2 separate regions of the Homo sapiens genome follow, and region 1 is linked to region 2. The links are contacts of gene promoters, found by promoter capture Hi-C in blood cells and fetal thymus (Javierre and others, 2016). All regions are on one chromosome and are shown on one strand. Each heading gives the region's core, a stretch centred on a gene start or on the middle of the fragment in contact. The rest is flanking DNA. Distances are from core to core; before and after follow the strand shown.

What was found. Contacts are between HindIII fragments. The CHiCAGO score rates a contact against its expected background, and 5 or more counts as called.
Region 1: a contact is called between the fragment with the promoter of KDELR1 here and the fragment with the promoter of SPACA4 in region 2, in 2 of 17 cell types (M0 macrophages and monocytes). The highest score is 6.7, in M0 macrophages.

Annotation. Positions count from the first base shown.
Region 1 is chr19:48,390,057-48,393,778 of GRCh38, reverse strand. KDELR1 (KDEL endoplasmic reticulum protein retention receptor 1) reads left to right here and starts at 2,228. Exons shown (of 5, transcript NM_006801.3): 1 at 2,228-2,511; 2 at 3,255-3,355. The coding sequence starts at 2,421. It overlaps GRIN2D (glutamate ionotropic receptor NMDA type subunit 2D), which reads right to left and starts at 111. Exons shown (of 14, transcript NM_000836.4): 1 at 1-111. RefSeq lists a silencer at 2,072-2,391 and an enhancer at 3,262-3,401. The HindIII fragment of the contact is 34,435 bases long and covers 1-3,722 here.
Region 2 is chr19:48,604,312-48,608,119 of GRCh38, reverse strand. It overlaps SPACA4 (sperm acrosome associated 4), which reads right to left and starts at 1,378. Exons shown (of 1, transcript NM_133498.3): 1 at 406-1,378. The coding sequence starts at 1,141. The coding sequence ends at 767. The region is part of intron 5 of FAM83E (family with sequence similarity 83 member E); the gene reads left to right. The HindIII fragment of the contact is 9,007 bases long and covers 1-1,562 here.

The sequences.
Region 1 (3,722 bases), core at 979-3,478, 220 kb after region 2:
CTGCGGGAGGCTGCGGGCGAGGGTGGCGGCGGCGGCCGCGGCTTGGAGGAGCTGGAGCGGGAGGGACTCACACACTCGCTGTGTTCTCGCACACACACACTCACTCGGGATGCGATTAACATTCAGTCCCCGTCTGCCACTGCCGGGAGACCCACAGCCCCCCCTCCTGGCCTCCCTGGGGACCCCTTCTCCTGCCAGGCTTGGGGAGGGGGCCGCCCCCCACCCCTAGCTACCAGCCTCTGCCTTCCTCCTGGGACAAGGGAGTGAGGGGCTGAAAATAAAAAGGGAGGAAGAAGTCAGGCTGGGGACAGGCAGGCAGGGACTCAGAACCCGGTATGGAGACACCAGCTTCAGAGCTAGACTCCAGGGCTGGGGGTTGCTGCCCTCTGCCCCCGCCCTGCCTTGAGGCTCTGGAAACAGGAGGCCTTTCCCTGACTTCAGTGTTCGCCACACTAAGACCCAAGCTGTGGCTTTTATTGCCCCAGAAGGCCAGGCCTGAAAACCAGGTCTCGACCCTGGTCCCAGGAGTCCCACCCCCCAGCCCCTCCTCCCTCAGACCCAGGAGTCCCCTTCTCTACTGGGACCCAGGAATTTGGGGACCGCCTCCAAGTCGGAGTCTCTTTTAAGGACTCAGTCATCCCGACTCTCCCCCGTACAAGCCACCCTCAGGGACCCAAGACTCGTGGATGTCACCCTTGGGCACCCCGTCCTTCCAGCCCTCTGAAGAAATCAACACGCCTGCACCCCTTCTTTTATTGAGGGACCCTGGCCTCCATCATCTGTGGGTACCCCATCATCCGGAAGGGAAGCCACGTCTGTCCCCTCATAGATGCAGGAGTCCAGACCACAGGCTGTTCCCCGGGGGTCCCACACCCAGATGCCCAGCATTCCCCTCCTGCTAGAGGGCTGGGCCCGGCACTTTTATAAAGCCACCCGTGGGGCTCTGGGGTAGAGCGTGGGGCAGGACACCGGGGCCTCTGAGGGTGGAAGAGGGTGTGTGTGTGTGGGCAGGGCAGAAACTCTGGAGCAGGGGGGAAGCCAGGGCCAGGGGCTCCTGAGGTAGTTTGGGTCAGAGTTTTGGCCTTGAGCCTCCTGGGTGAGGCTCCTGTTTCCTTCATCCTCAAGGTCTGGGAGAACAGGGTGAGGTGCACATTCCTGAAAAAGAAGAGAATCAGGGCCTAAATCTGTGGGTCGTAAAGGGAGAAACTGTAGATCTAGATTCTTAAGGTTAGGATGTTTGATCCATAAGATGGTGGGGGTGGGACCCTAAGTTCCAAGGAACAGCGTCCTAGGAGGGAAAAGGGCTGGGGCCCTGAACTCCTGGGTCTGAGGGAGGAGGGGCTGGGGCCCTGGACCCCTGGGTCTGAGGGAGGAGGGGCTGGGGCCCTGGACCCCTGGGTCTGAGGGAGGAGGGGCTGGGGCCCTGGACCCCTGGGTCTGAGGGAGGAGGGGCTGGGGATCTGGACTCCTGGGTCTGAGGGAGGAGGTGCTGGGGGTCTGGACTCCTGGGTCTGAGGGAGGAAGGGCTGGGGGCCTGGACTCCTGGATCTGGGGGAGGAGGGTCTGGGGGCCTGGAGTCCTGGGTCTGAGGGAGGAGGCTGGGGGCCTGGACTCCTGGGTCTGAGGGAGGAGGCTGGGGGCCTGGACTCCTGGGTCTGAGCGAGGAGGAGCTGGGCCTGGACTCCTGGATCTGAGGGAGGAGGGGCTGGGGGTCTGGACTTCTGGGTCTGAGGGAGGAGAGGCTGGGGGTCTGGACTCCTGGGTCTGAGGGAGGAGGGGCTGGGGACCCAGACTTCTGGGTTTGACGAACGGGCTGGGGCCTTGAGTCCTGGGTCTAGGGGAGGAAGTAGGTGGGGTATCTTTCTTGTCTTCTGGGGGATTGGAGTTAGAGTGCCTGAAAGCTGCAAAAGCTAGCAGCTGAGCCTCCGGGTCCCTGCAGGATTTTTCAAGCTCAGAGGGCAGTCTCTACATCCCTGCAAGGGCTGAGGCTGGTGTACTGGACTGCGTCTCTTCCAGAGACACAGACTGCCTGGGCGAACCGGTGCTGGATTTGGCACTTTCCGAACCCTGCGACCCTCCCAAGTTCCTATGGGGCAGCTTTGGGGGTGCGTTTAGCGCCGCCACGGCAAAGCAGGAGGTGGGCGATAGGGGGCGCCGGGGATCCAGGCCCCGCCCTCGGGGGCGGAGCCTCTCCTCCCGGACTCCTCCCCCTCTCGCTCTCCTCCCTCTTCCCGGCTCCAGCTCCGCCGCCAGCTCCAGCCTTTGCTCCCCCTCCCAAAGTCCCCTCCCCGGAGCGGAGCGCACCTAGGGTCCCTCTTCCGTCCCCCCAGCCCAGCTACCCGTTCAGACCAGCAGCCTCGGGGGGCACCCCCCCGCCAGCCTGCCTCCCTCCCGCTCAGCCCTGCCAGGGTTCCCCAGCCATGAATCTCTTCCGATTCCTGGGAGACCTCTCCCACCTCCTCGCCATCATCTTGCTACTGCTCAAAATCTGGAAGTCCCGCTCGTGCGCCGGTGAGAGGCCCACCAGGGCTGGCGAAGGAGAGAGATTGCGGGCGGGGGTTGGGGGACGTCGCAGGACTCAGGAAGGGTTTGGGGGCACTAGGGGCACAGGTTCCACCCCCACTGCTTGCTGGGGATCTCTCTTCTAGGTTCTGGGTCTCCAGGGGATCAGCTCCCTTCCCCAGACTGGCGGGGGTGCATACAGTTTCATGTGAATGGCTTTAGGCCCCCAATTCAGCCACCCCCAGCCCCAATCTGGGCAGCCCGAGGGTTCATGGACCGGGAACAGGGAACCATGGCAGGCGGGGAGGTGGCTGTGAGTTGGTGACGTGGACCGTGGCGGCCAGGAAGGGAACGGGAGGGAGGTGACCGGATCCGGGGCCTGAGGTCAGGGAAGGTCCTCCCTAGGCCTCACCTCAGGTCCAGACTGCGGGAGGACCCTGAGGGGCCAGGGGTAGCCATGAGGCCTAGTCTGGGACGGAGCCTCGGGCTGGAGTAGCTTCGGGGGCCTGGGCTGCCCCCTGGCTGTGGTCCGTGGGAAAGGGCCCTGCTCAGGCGGGGCGGGCTGGGGAGGCCTCCGGGGACAGCTGCACTCCAGAGCTGCCTCCAGGCTGGTCCCGGGCGCCCTGCCTTAGTTTATTGCCCATGCAGCCCACCCCCAGCTTCCTCTCTCCTTCTGTCTGTCTGTCTGTCTGTCTGTCTCTCTCTCTCTCTCTGTCTCTCTCTCTCTCTCTTTCTCTGTCTCTGGACCACAGGAATTTCAGGGAAGAGCCAGGTCCTGTTTGCTGTGGTGTTCACTGCCCGATATCTGGACCTCTTCACCAACTACATCTCACTCTACAACACGTGTATGAAGGTAGAGGCTCCACCCCACCTCTCTGGCCCCCACTGAGGCAGAGGAGCCGGGTGTGGGTCCCAGACTCCTAGGTCTGAGGGAGGAGGGGCTGGGGGCCTGGACTCCTGGGTCTGAGGGAGGAGGGGCCGGGGGCCTGGACTCTTGGGTCTGAGGGAAGAAGGGACTGAGGCCTGGACTCCTGGGTCTGAGGGAGGAGGGGTTGGGGGTCTGGACTCCTGGGTCTGAGGGAGGAGGGGCCGGGGGCCTGGACTTTTGGGTCTGAGGGAGGAAGGGACTGGGGCCTGGACTCCTGGGTCTGAGGGAGGAGGGGCTGGGCCTGGACTCTTGGGTCTGAGGGAGGAGGGGCTGGGCCTGGACTCCTGGATCT
Region 2 (3,808 bases), core at 129-2,628:
AAAGAGAGAACAATACACAGCTTTTGGACCCCACTGCCATTCATCGTGCCTGGAACAGGACCTGAGAATCTGCATTTTCAGGAAGTTCCCACTTGCTGCTGCTGCTGTTTCTGGTCCAGGGACCACACTTTGAGAATGATTGGAGTTGAGACCAGGATGTTTGAAATGTTTGAAAGAGTGTTTACCTTCCCAGCTTGGTGTGAGGATTCAGTGGCACGTAACGTAAGACAGGCTTGGCCAGGTGCCGTGGCTCATACCTGTAATCCCAGCACTTTGGGAGGCTGAGGTGGGAGGATCACTTGAGCCCAAGAATCCGAGACCACCCTGGGCAACATAGCTGGACCTTATCTCTACAAAAAGAAAAAAAAAAAAAGGAAAAGAAAAAGAAAAGAAAACAAAGAATGCTCCATGAACATCAGCTGTCATTTATTATGATATATATATATTTTTTACCATATTTCATGGACTCTAAAGTGCTACCAATGGAGAGAAGCATCCTGATTGAGATGTGAGAAGCTCTGCGTCTTAGAACCAGTGGAACAGAGTAATACAATCAAACCCACGGGCCGTGCTCCCCTGCCGCTCAGTCAGGCCTGGGGATGCTTCCCCTAGCACCGGGCTCCTGGTGGACAGCCTTAGAAGGGATGAAGCCAGGGCCGCAAGAGGTTGTCCAGGGCCTCTCTGGCCATTTAGTGGGGGAAGGACATGGGGACATGGGGAGTGGCGGATCTGGGAGAACAGTCCCAGGCCCTGTCCTCCCTGTTGGTCACAGCAAACGTGGAGGAAGCAGCATACCCAGCCCCAGTGCCAGGCTGGTGGTGGCCCCCACTGTCTGGCTGCTCGGGGCTCTGTTACACAGGCGGCCGGTGCAGCAGTTGGTGGTGAGGCTGTAGGTGACGCCCCTGTAGCTGACGGGTTCCTCAAGGCCGCAGCTGGTGGCTCGCAGGCAGCCTTTGTTGATGACCGGACCAGTGCCCGGGGCGACCCCGTGGCCTGTGAAGCAGTCCTCGTCATCGCCACAGTGCATGTAGGTACCAGGACACTGCATGGAGTCGGTGAGCTCACAGAAGACGCAGTCCTTGACGCCCGTCGTGCCTGGGGGCAGAGCCATCACCAGAAGCAGCAGCCAGCACAGGACCATGGCGGCCTGGCGGCGTTGACCCTGCCCCAGCCAGGCCGTGGGCTTCCCAGACCTCCCGGAACCGCTGAATGAAGGACCTCTGAGGACTCCTCTTGCCCACGGGACTTTGGCCCTGGTCCTGGCCTCCCAGGGTCAGCGCCTGGAGTGTCCTCTGTTCCCAACGCCCTGCGTCCCTCTAAGTCCTGGGGATGGAGGTGAGCGGGTGGCTGCTGCCCAACAAGAGTCTGTGAATGGAATGAGTGATCTCACAGATCCCTCAGGGTTCCCACTGGCCGCTCTGGGGATGAGGTCATAGGTGAGAGGAGTGGGTGTCACAATCCAAGGGGTGGCCTGCCCCGCCGACCTGCCGGGGCGCAAGAGGGCTCTGCCATCCCTGCCAAGGTGAAGACGCCCTGAACCCAGAGGACGCTGGCCACAAGCTTGTCCGCATTCTCTGTGCTGTACACCCGCCAAGGGCTTGACTTCAGCCTCACACCTCCCATAGTGACCCCATATTCCAGATGGGTAAACTAAGGCTGGGGAAAGTGATGTATCCAGGGTCCCCGAGCCAGGATGAGAGCCAGGTTCATTGAATTCCAAAGAGGCTGGGAAAGAAGAGGGTGTATTAACTGAGCACTTGCTGTGTGCCAGGATTCATGCTCAGTGCTTGCTTGCTTTTATTTTTTTGAGACGGAGTCTCTCACTCTGTCACCCAGGCTGGAGTGCAGTGGCGTGATCTCAGCTCACTGCAGCTTCTGCTTCCCAGCTTCAAGCGATTCTCGTAACTCAGCCTCCCGAGTGGCTGGGACTGCAGGCGCATGCAACCACATCTGGCTAATTTTTGTATTTTTAGTAGAGACAGGGTTTCACCATGTAGGCCAGGCTGGTTGCGAACTCTTGAGCTCAAGTGATCTGCCCGCCTCGACCTCCCAAAGTGCTGGGATTACAGACGTGAGCCACCACACCACGCCTGGCACTTGGTGCTTTCAATAACAACTACTGTGATGACAGGAAGTGTTAGGGCACCGGCCCCCACAGCTCACAGGCTCTCAGGGCCAGCTACGTGCAGGGGGCTTGATTCAAATTCAGTCATTTGAATATTCCTATGTTGTATTTATTTCTTAATTTTATTTTTTATTTTAAAAAATTGGCCGGGCGCAGTGGCTCACGCCTGTAATCCCAGCACTTTGGGAGGCCGAGGCGGGTGGATCACCTGAGCTCAGGAGTTCAAGACCAGCATGGCCAACGTGGTAAAACCCCATCTCTACTAAAAATACAAAAATTTGCTGGGCATGGTGGTGTGCACCTGTAATCCCAGCTACTTGGGAGGCTTGAACCTGGGAGGTGGAGGTTGCAGTGAGCCAATATTGTGCCACTGCACTTGAGCCTAGGCAATAGAGCAAGACTCCATCTCAAAAAAAAAAAAAAATAGGATCTTGCTCTGTTGCCTAGACTGGAGTGCAGTGGCGCGATCTTGGCTCACTGCAGCCTCAACTTCCCAGGCTCAAGTGATTCTCCTCCCTGAGCCTCCAGAGTAGCTGGGACTATAGGCGTGCACCACCATGCCCGGCTAATTTTGTAAAATTTTTTATAGAGATGGGGTCTTGCTATGTTGCCCAGGCTGGTCTCAAACTCCTAGCCTCAAGTGATCCTCCTGCCTCGGCCTCCCAAAGTGCTGGGATTACAGGCATGAGCCACTGCACACGGCCTTCCTAGGTTTTTGCTCCAGATTGCAGATGAGCACTGCAGGGAGCAGCAACGTGGAGAGCTTGGTGCACAGCCAGGACTGACTAAATGGCAGTCATTCTAGGAAGCAGCTGGGTCTTAAAACAATCCCTGTTAGTGTCCGGAAGTGAATTCCGTCTCTTTCCAAAGGGGAAAACTGAGGCATTGAGGTGTTCCTAAGTGGGGACCAGGCAGAGCCTGGGTTTAAACTCCAGTCTGATTCCAGATAAGTTTTTTTTTTTTTTTTTTTTTTTTGAGTCAGAGTCTCGCTCTGTCGCCCAGGTTGGAGTGCAGTGGTGTGATTTCAGCTCACTGCAACCTCCACCTCCCGGGTTCAAGCAATTCTCCTGCCTCAGCCTCCTGAGTAGCTGGAATTACAGGCATGTGCCACCATACCCAGCTAATTTCTGTATTTTTAGTAGAGATGGGGTTTCACCATGTTGGTCAGGCTGATCTCAAACTCCTGACCTCATGATCTGCCCGCCTCAGCCTCCCAAAGTGCTGGGATTACAGGAGTGAGCCACCGCATCTGGCTTTTTTTTTTTTGGGAGGGGGGCGAGGGGGACAGGGTCTTGCTTTGCTGCCCAGGCTGGAATGCAGTGGTATTATCACGGCTCACTGCAGCCTCAATTTCCCAGGCTCAGCCGGGCACGGGTGGCTCACACCTGTAATCCCAGCACTTTGGGAGGCCGAGGCGGGTGGATCACCTGAGGTCAGGGGTTCGAGACCAGCCTGGCCAATGTGGTGAAACCCCATCTCTACTAAAAATACAAAAAATTAGCCGGGCATGGCGGCAGGTGCCTGTAATCCCAACTACTCAGGAGGCTGAGGCAGGAGAATTGCTTGAAGCCAGGAGGCAGAGGTTGCAGTGAGCCGAGATCATGCCACTACACTCCAGCCTGGGCAAAAAGAGCGAAACTCCGTCTCACAAAAAAAAAAAAAAAAAAAAAAATCCCAGGGTCA